Linked DNA regions of Homo sapiens: region 2 is linked to region 1. The links are contacts of gene promoters, found by promoter capture Hi-C in blood cells and fetal thymus (Javierre and others, 2016). All regions are on one chromosome and are shown on one strand. Each heading gives the region's core, a stretch centred on a gene start or on the middle of the fragment in contact. The rest is flanking DNA. Distances are from core to core; before and after follow the strand shown. Region 1 holds the start of LSR (lipolysis stimulated lipoprotein receptor). Region 2 holds the start of FFAR3 (free fatty acid receptor 3).

Region 1 (3,216 bases), core at 33-2,532:
CTGTGAGCTCAGGGAGGTGCTTCAACAGGAACGCCACCTGTCACCAGCTTGACACTCGCAAGTATGTGGTTTACAGAGTGCCTGGCACACATTGTTCCTTAATTGCCAGGACCAGTGAGGTAGCCACGATAATCATGCCCATTTTATAGACCCGTGGGGCTGAAGTGGCAGGTGCACGGTGACACGGCCAGTTTCCTTGGACTCGCCCGCCATCCCTCTTCCCAGCCTGTGGCCTCTGAACCACACCAGTCCCCTCTTCCCTTTGCCATTCACCCACAACAAGGGGCCTCTGTGTGGCCTGGGCAGGCAAGCCCAGATGGCCATGTTGATGCCCCCAGCGCCCAAGGCCCCACTTCAAAACCGACTACGAAGGATTCCAGGTTACCCGGGGCCTTTTGAATTTGGAGGGAAAACCATGGAGTTGTTTGCCTGAACTGCTTTGCCATGGAGGGACTAAAGCCCCCACAATATCTCCATCAGCCTCCCACCACCTCACCCTACTCTAAAGTCATTTCAAATGACTGAACCAAAAGTGTCTCGGGAAAGACCTCATCACCACCCAAATATCCCATCCAGGTGAAAGCCTGCCAGCAGAAGTCGGTTTCAAGTCCGTAAATCCATCCCACCAGACTCTTACGCACGTATAATCCGGAGCCCGCGGGAGGTGGGTGGGGTGCGGGGGATGGGGAGTCCCCAGTCCCACACCCACCCGAGGCCTAGGCATTGTTCCTTCGTCTCTGTCCCTCTAGGAAGCGTCTGATCCAGCCCTCCCGTGCCCTCTCCCCGTTACTCCAAAACTTAGAAATCCCCGGGTGCGCCCAAGTCCCATCCCGGCTTTTCTTTTCCCAGAGATCGGGCGGTCTTCCACTCCCTCCCCACAAAGAGTTCCATTCTCCCTGCCGCTCCGGGTCTCACCGTCCAGGGAGTTTCACTTCCTGCTATCTTCCAGATAAGGGCGCGGGGAGCGCTCCCCGGCACAAATGGGGAATTCCTCTCACTCCCGCGCGCAACAGATCGCCCAAGACCCAGGGGATCGGAAGGTCCCAGCCTCTGAGACCCCCGCTTCCCGCTTCCCGCCGCCTCCAACTCCATCCATCCCCCTCTACAGTTCCCTCCGGCGTTCCGCAGCGTCAGAGGCCCCGTGCCCCGTACCTGTGCACCAGGTGCTAAGCAGAAGCCACACGAAGACGACCGCGTCCCGGCCTGCGGCGGCCGGGTGGGAGCCCAGCCCTCTGGAGAGCCCGCCGGCCAACAGCGCCATCGCGGCCGTCTGGGCGCGTCTGGCCCGCGCGTCCCTTCCAAAGTACCTTAGGGGGCGCGGCGCGCACCAAGGCCAGGAGGGGTGCACGCTCCTCCCCTTCCCACTTCCGTTCCTTGTCCCTACTCCAAGTCCGTCCTGTTGCATTCTGGAAGTTTTAATGAGCGTAAACGACGTGGACAAAGGGCATGCTTTCAGATATGGGGGAGAAAGGTGCTTGACCCGCCGCGGTCCTCCGAGCCACACTCCACCCGCTGCGCGCTCCGGTGAATGGTTCGGCCCAGGTACACAAGGGTGGGAGCCGAGGGCTGGGCTTAGGGGTGAGCGGCGGGGAGGGGTTCCTCTGCCTCCCTCCCCGGAAGTGGGCTGACCCAGGTGCGCTCCGTCCCCCAGGGCCCGAACCAAGTGACTGGCCCGCTGGGAGGGCGCCTGCGGACCACAGGTCCCTTCCGGCCCCCATCTGCTCCGGCCAAACCAAGCGCACCGAGATCCATGCAACCGAGACCCACTTGGAGCGATTCACCTGTTGAGATAGGGCGGGTCCCGCCGCGCACCTGTTCCCTCCCTGCCCAAACCCCTCTCCCCGGCTGGCGATGGACCCGCCTAGGTGCGCCCTGCCGGGAGGAGCGAGTCTAAGCAAAGTCCTGGCTGGGAGAGGCTTGTTGGTGGCGCCTGACTTCTCCACTTCCACTGGGGTTCCTCCGGACCGGGTGGAGGGGGGGCGCTTCGGGCCTCCTGTGTCTCCCAGTTAGATGACCTGAGGAACCCTCTAAAGTCCCCGGAAGGGAAGCTCTGCCCCCTCAGGGATGCCCAAGGGGAATCAGGGCCAGGAAAAGTTGGAATTCCACTTCGGAAGTTTTCGCCACCTCCCCCACCCGTTCCCAACTTGTGGTTCGGCCCCTGGGCATCCCTAGCCCCCGGGTCAGCCCTCCGGAAATTCTGGCTCTTAAAGGGGCCGAGCGAAGGCGCGGGGCTTGGGACCGGTTTCCGCTTAGGAATTCCCGGAACGAGCCACCTGCGACCGAGGGCGGGGGCGCGGCGCGGCGATCAGCCTGCGCAGCGCTGGGCGTGACTCTGCTGTCTCCAGGTGGCGGCGAGGGAAAGCGCATCCTGGGGGAACCCTGGGCGCTTCCTCGCGTTAGACTCCCCCAGGTTGCCAACTGGCCAGTGGCTGGTTTCGGTACCCAGGCGTGCTTTGTTCTACTGGCCCTGTTAAAACTCAAGCCAGATCACGTCCACCTGCTCACAGCCCTCCTGTGGCTCCTCCTCACTCTCAGCAGAAACTGACCTTCCCCCTCTTATCTCACCTCCTCCCACTCTCTCTGGCTTACTCAGCTTCGGACACCCTGGCCTCCTCGCTGTTTCCAACTATACTTCTCACAGTCCTCAGAGCCATCGCCCGTGCTACTCCCTCTGCCAGAACACCCTTCCCGCAGATGTCCACATGATCTTCCTCCTCCTGTAGGACACCATTGCAGTGACACCTTCCCTGGCCACTTTTTATAAAATTTCAACCCGTTCACGTCCCTTCATCGTTTAAAAAAATATTTTTATGATAAAATATGCAAACTATAATATTTATCGCTTTAACCACTTCAAGTGTAAAATTCAGTGGCATTAAGTATATTCACAATGTCGTGTACCAATCACCACTCTTTATCCCCGAAACTGTTTCATCATCCCCAACATAAACTCTGTGACCATTAAACAGTAACTCCCCATTCCCTGCTACCTGTGCCCCTAGTAATTTCTATTCTACTTTGCTTACCAAATTGCCCATTCTAGGTGCCTCATATAAGTGGAATCGTCTAACATTTGTCCTGTGTCTAGTTTATTTCACAAAGAATAATGTTTTCAAGGTCCATCCATGTTGTAGTATGTCGAAGCCATGTAGCATGCAGTAAGATCAAAATTTCTTTTTACAGCGGACTAGTGTACCATTGTATGTATATGCTACG
Region 2 (3,216 bases), core at 274-2,773, 110 kb before region 1:
GGAAGCGCCCTGAGGATGACATGCCAGCTACACCCTCCTCCCCCGGAGGACCTAGCTTTCAGCACAGGCCACCTGGCCACCAGTTCCACAGCCCTGTGAGTGTTCACTGGTCTTTCTTTCAGCTGGTCGGTCCGCTCTCTGCTCCTCCCCTCCCTTCTGCTCCTTCAGCTCCATGCTGCTCTCCTGCTGCCACTGGCCCCAGAGCCCACACAACCTCCTCAGCAGCTCATGAAAGTCGGCTTGGAACCCGGAGGAGGAGAAGTAGTAGACAAAGGGGTCGACACAGGAGTTCAGGGTGCTGAGAAGCGTCACGTAGATCCTCCACGCCGGGCTTTCACCGCAGATATAGCCCACGACATGGGACACGTTGTAGGGCCCAAAGCAGACAAGGAAGTTGAGCAGCGTGGCCGCCAACAGCCCCGCCACCCTCCTCTGCCGGCGGTGGCTGCCCCCTCTGCCGAGGATCCACACCAGGCGGCTGTAGCAGTAGCTGGTGATGATCAGCGGGACCACAAAGAGGACCACAGCCATCTCCAGCCGCACGGGCAGGAGGATGGCTAGCTGGTCCTTCCGGAACTCCAGGTAGCAGGTCCCATTGGTGCCCTGGCTGTGGGAGATGTCCCCTGAGAATTCTATGACGTAGACCACGCTGCAGTGAGCAGAGGCCAACAGCCAGCAGGCCACACTCACCAGACCTGCCTGCCCCAGCCTCGGCCGGGTCTTGTACCACAGTGGGTGGGCCACACTCAGGAAGCGTTCAATGCTCACAGCTGCCAGGAAGAGGGCGGTGAGATAGATGGTGGTGAAGAAGATGAATCCAGAGAGTGGGCAGAGGATGAAGGGCAGGGGCCAGTGCATGCCATTGGCTGCCTCCACCATGCGGAAAGGCAGGAACAGCAGCAGGAGCAGGTCCGAGGCGGTCAGGTTGAGCAGGAGCACGTCCACGGCCACCGGGCGGCGCTGCAGCTTGCCCACGAAGACCACCAGGGCCAGCAGGTTGAGGGGGAGCCCCACCAGGAAAGTGAGAAGGTACACCGAGAAGACGAACCAGTGATTGCCGGAGAAGTAGGACTGGTCGGGGCCTGTATCCATGGTGGTGGCCACTGGTGAGAGAGAGTAACATGGAGTTGGTAGTGGGGGCCCTAACGGCCTCTGGCCAGCAGCATCTCCCCTAAAAGGGCACGAGGTCACTACGCCCACCCCTCTTGTCTCTGGGTGCCTTCCAGGCGGGGTCAGCCTGCCTGTCTTCCTGAGCATGCCCTGTCCCCTGTCCCTTCCCCAGCAGAGAAGCACCAAGGTGCTCCTCCACCCAGCCCCTCGGGCCCAGGCTCACCTGCTTCTTTGAGACCCCAAATGCTCTGCCGCACAGCACCTTGCTGTCTCTCCAGACCTAGTGCAGTTGGCTATTTATCCGGCAGAACTGATAAAGACCTGGCCGTGCCCATGACGTCACTCACTGTTGAGCAGTGGCACATAGATGCCTTGAGCTCCGTTGCCAGGGCTGGTCAGCATGCTAAAAGGGGAACAAATTCCACAACTGCGTGCCTCCCTCCTCATGCAGTCTCAGCTGGGATGCTCTAAGCAGGCCCCAGCCGACGTCTTCCTCTCCCCTTCTTCACTTGAATTTTGTCTGCTTCTCTAGAATGGCATTTATCCAATTTGCCTTGTAAGGGCAGGAAGTGTGATGCAATGACAGAGAGCGAGCTCCGTGAGGTCTGTTTCTTCCTGACTTTGTGATTTGGGGGAAATGACTTAAATTCTCCATGTTTCTGCTTTCTCCCCTGCAGAACAGAGCTCATCATAATACCCATCTCATAGATCAACGCATTAACACATGCAAATTAAAACAATATGTAGGTCGATTAAAAGATTACTAATACATGTTGAGTGGTTTGACGGAAGCCTGGCGTGTGGTCGTGAGCAGGCAGCGGATGCCAGCTGCTATTTTCCCTGTCACTGGTGCAGGATTATCTCTGGGGTGACAATGTAATAATAATAACAATAATAATGGTGGTGGCGATGATGACAGCAGCTGCCTTTTCATGGGCACATAATCCATAGCAGACACTGCTTCTAGGGCAACGCTTTTATGTCATAAAATCCTTGTCCTTCACCGTAGGGAAGTGACTTGCTCCAGGTGATACAGCTTGTGAAATGTCACCACTAGGGTTCAAACCCAAGTGCTGTCCAGTTTCACAGGTGATCTATTAGTTCATTCAAACAATCACAGGGCACAATGAGATATGATTTCACATCCACTAGAATGGCCACAAGCAAAAAGTCAGACAATGCCTATGGTCGGCGAGAATGTAGAGAGATAGGGGCCTCATTCACTGCTGGTGAGAATAATGGGAGGTGGTGTCCCTGCTTTGGAAAGCAGGTGGCAGTTGCTTAAAAAGTTAAACATAAATTCACCATGCGATCCAACAATTCCACCGTAGGTATTTACTTAAGAGAAGTGGAAACTCAGGTCTACTTAAAGACTCAGTCCTAAATGTTCACAGCAGTGTTGGTCATAGTCACCAACAGTGGAAATGTTACCTGGCAGCCCATCAGCTGGTGAGTGAATAAAAAAGTGGCACATCCATATACTGGAATTCTATTTGGCAAAGAAAAGGAATGAGCTACCCATACACACTACAGCCTTATGTTGAGTGAAACAAGCCAGACGTAAAAGACCATGTACATATATTGTCAGATTTCATTTATTTATATGATATGTCCAGAATAGGCAAAGTTATAGAGTCAGAAAGTAGACTCGTGGTTGTCTGGGGGATGGAGGTAGAAATGAAGATTAAGTTGTTTTTTTTTTTTTTTTTTTTTTTTTGAGACAGGGTCTTGTTGTCGCCCAGGCTGGAGTGCAATGGTGCAATCTTGGCTCACTGCAAACTCTGCCTCCCGGGTTCAAGAAATTCTCATGCCTCAGCTTCCTAAGTAGCTAGGATTACAGGTGCCCGCCACCACGCCTGGCTAATTTTTGTATGTTTAGTAGAGATGAGGTTTCGCCATGTTGGCCAGGCTGGTCTCGAACTACTGACCTCAGGTGATCCGTCCACCCCAGCCTCCCAAAATGCTGAGATTATAGGCGTGAGCCACCCCGCCTGGCCCAAGATTAAGTTTAAATGAACATGAAGTAAAATCCTTTACTAGGGTCATGAAAATGTTCTAAAACTAGCTGATGGTAATGGACTCACACCTCAGTAAATTTACTAAAAA

The links. Contacts are between HindIII fragments. The CHiCAGO score rates a contact against its expected background, and 5 or more counts as called.
Region 2: the fragment with the promoter of FFAR3 here is called in contact with the fragment with the promoter of LSR in region 1 in 2 of 17 cell types (monocytes and neutrophils); the score reaches 7.4 in monocytes.

The regions. Positions count from the first base shown.
Region 1 is chr19:35,247,068-35,250,283 of GRCh38, reverse strand. LSR (lipolysis stimulated lipoprotein receptor) reads right to left here and starts at 1,282. Exons shown (of 10, transcript NM_205834.4): 1 at 1,153-1,282. The coding sequence starts at 1,261. RefSeq lists silencers at 1,119-1,188, 1,599-1,678 and enhancers at 791-1,592, 1,593-2,395, 2,529-2,698. The HindIII fragment of the contact is 9,039 bases long and covers 1-3,216 here.
Region 2 is chr19:35,356,767-35,359,982 of GRCh38, reverse strand. It overlaps FFAR3 (free fatty acid receptor 3), which reads right to left and starts at 1,523. Exons shown (of 2, transcript NM_005304.5): 1 at 1,334-1,523; 2 at 1-1,103. The coding sequence starts at 1,092. The coding sequence ends at 52. RefSeq lists an enhancer at 1-202. The HindIII fragment of the contact is 8,969 bases long and covers 1-3,216 here.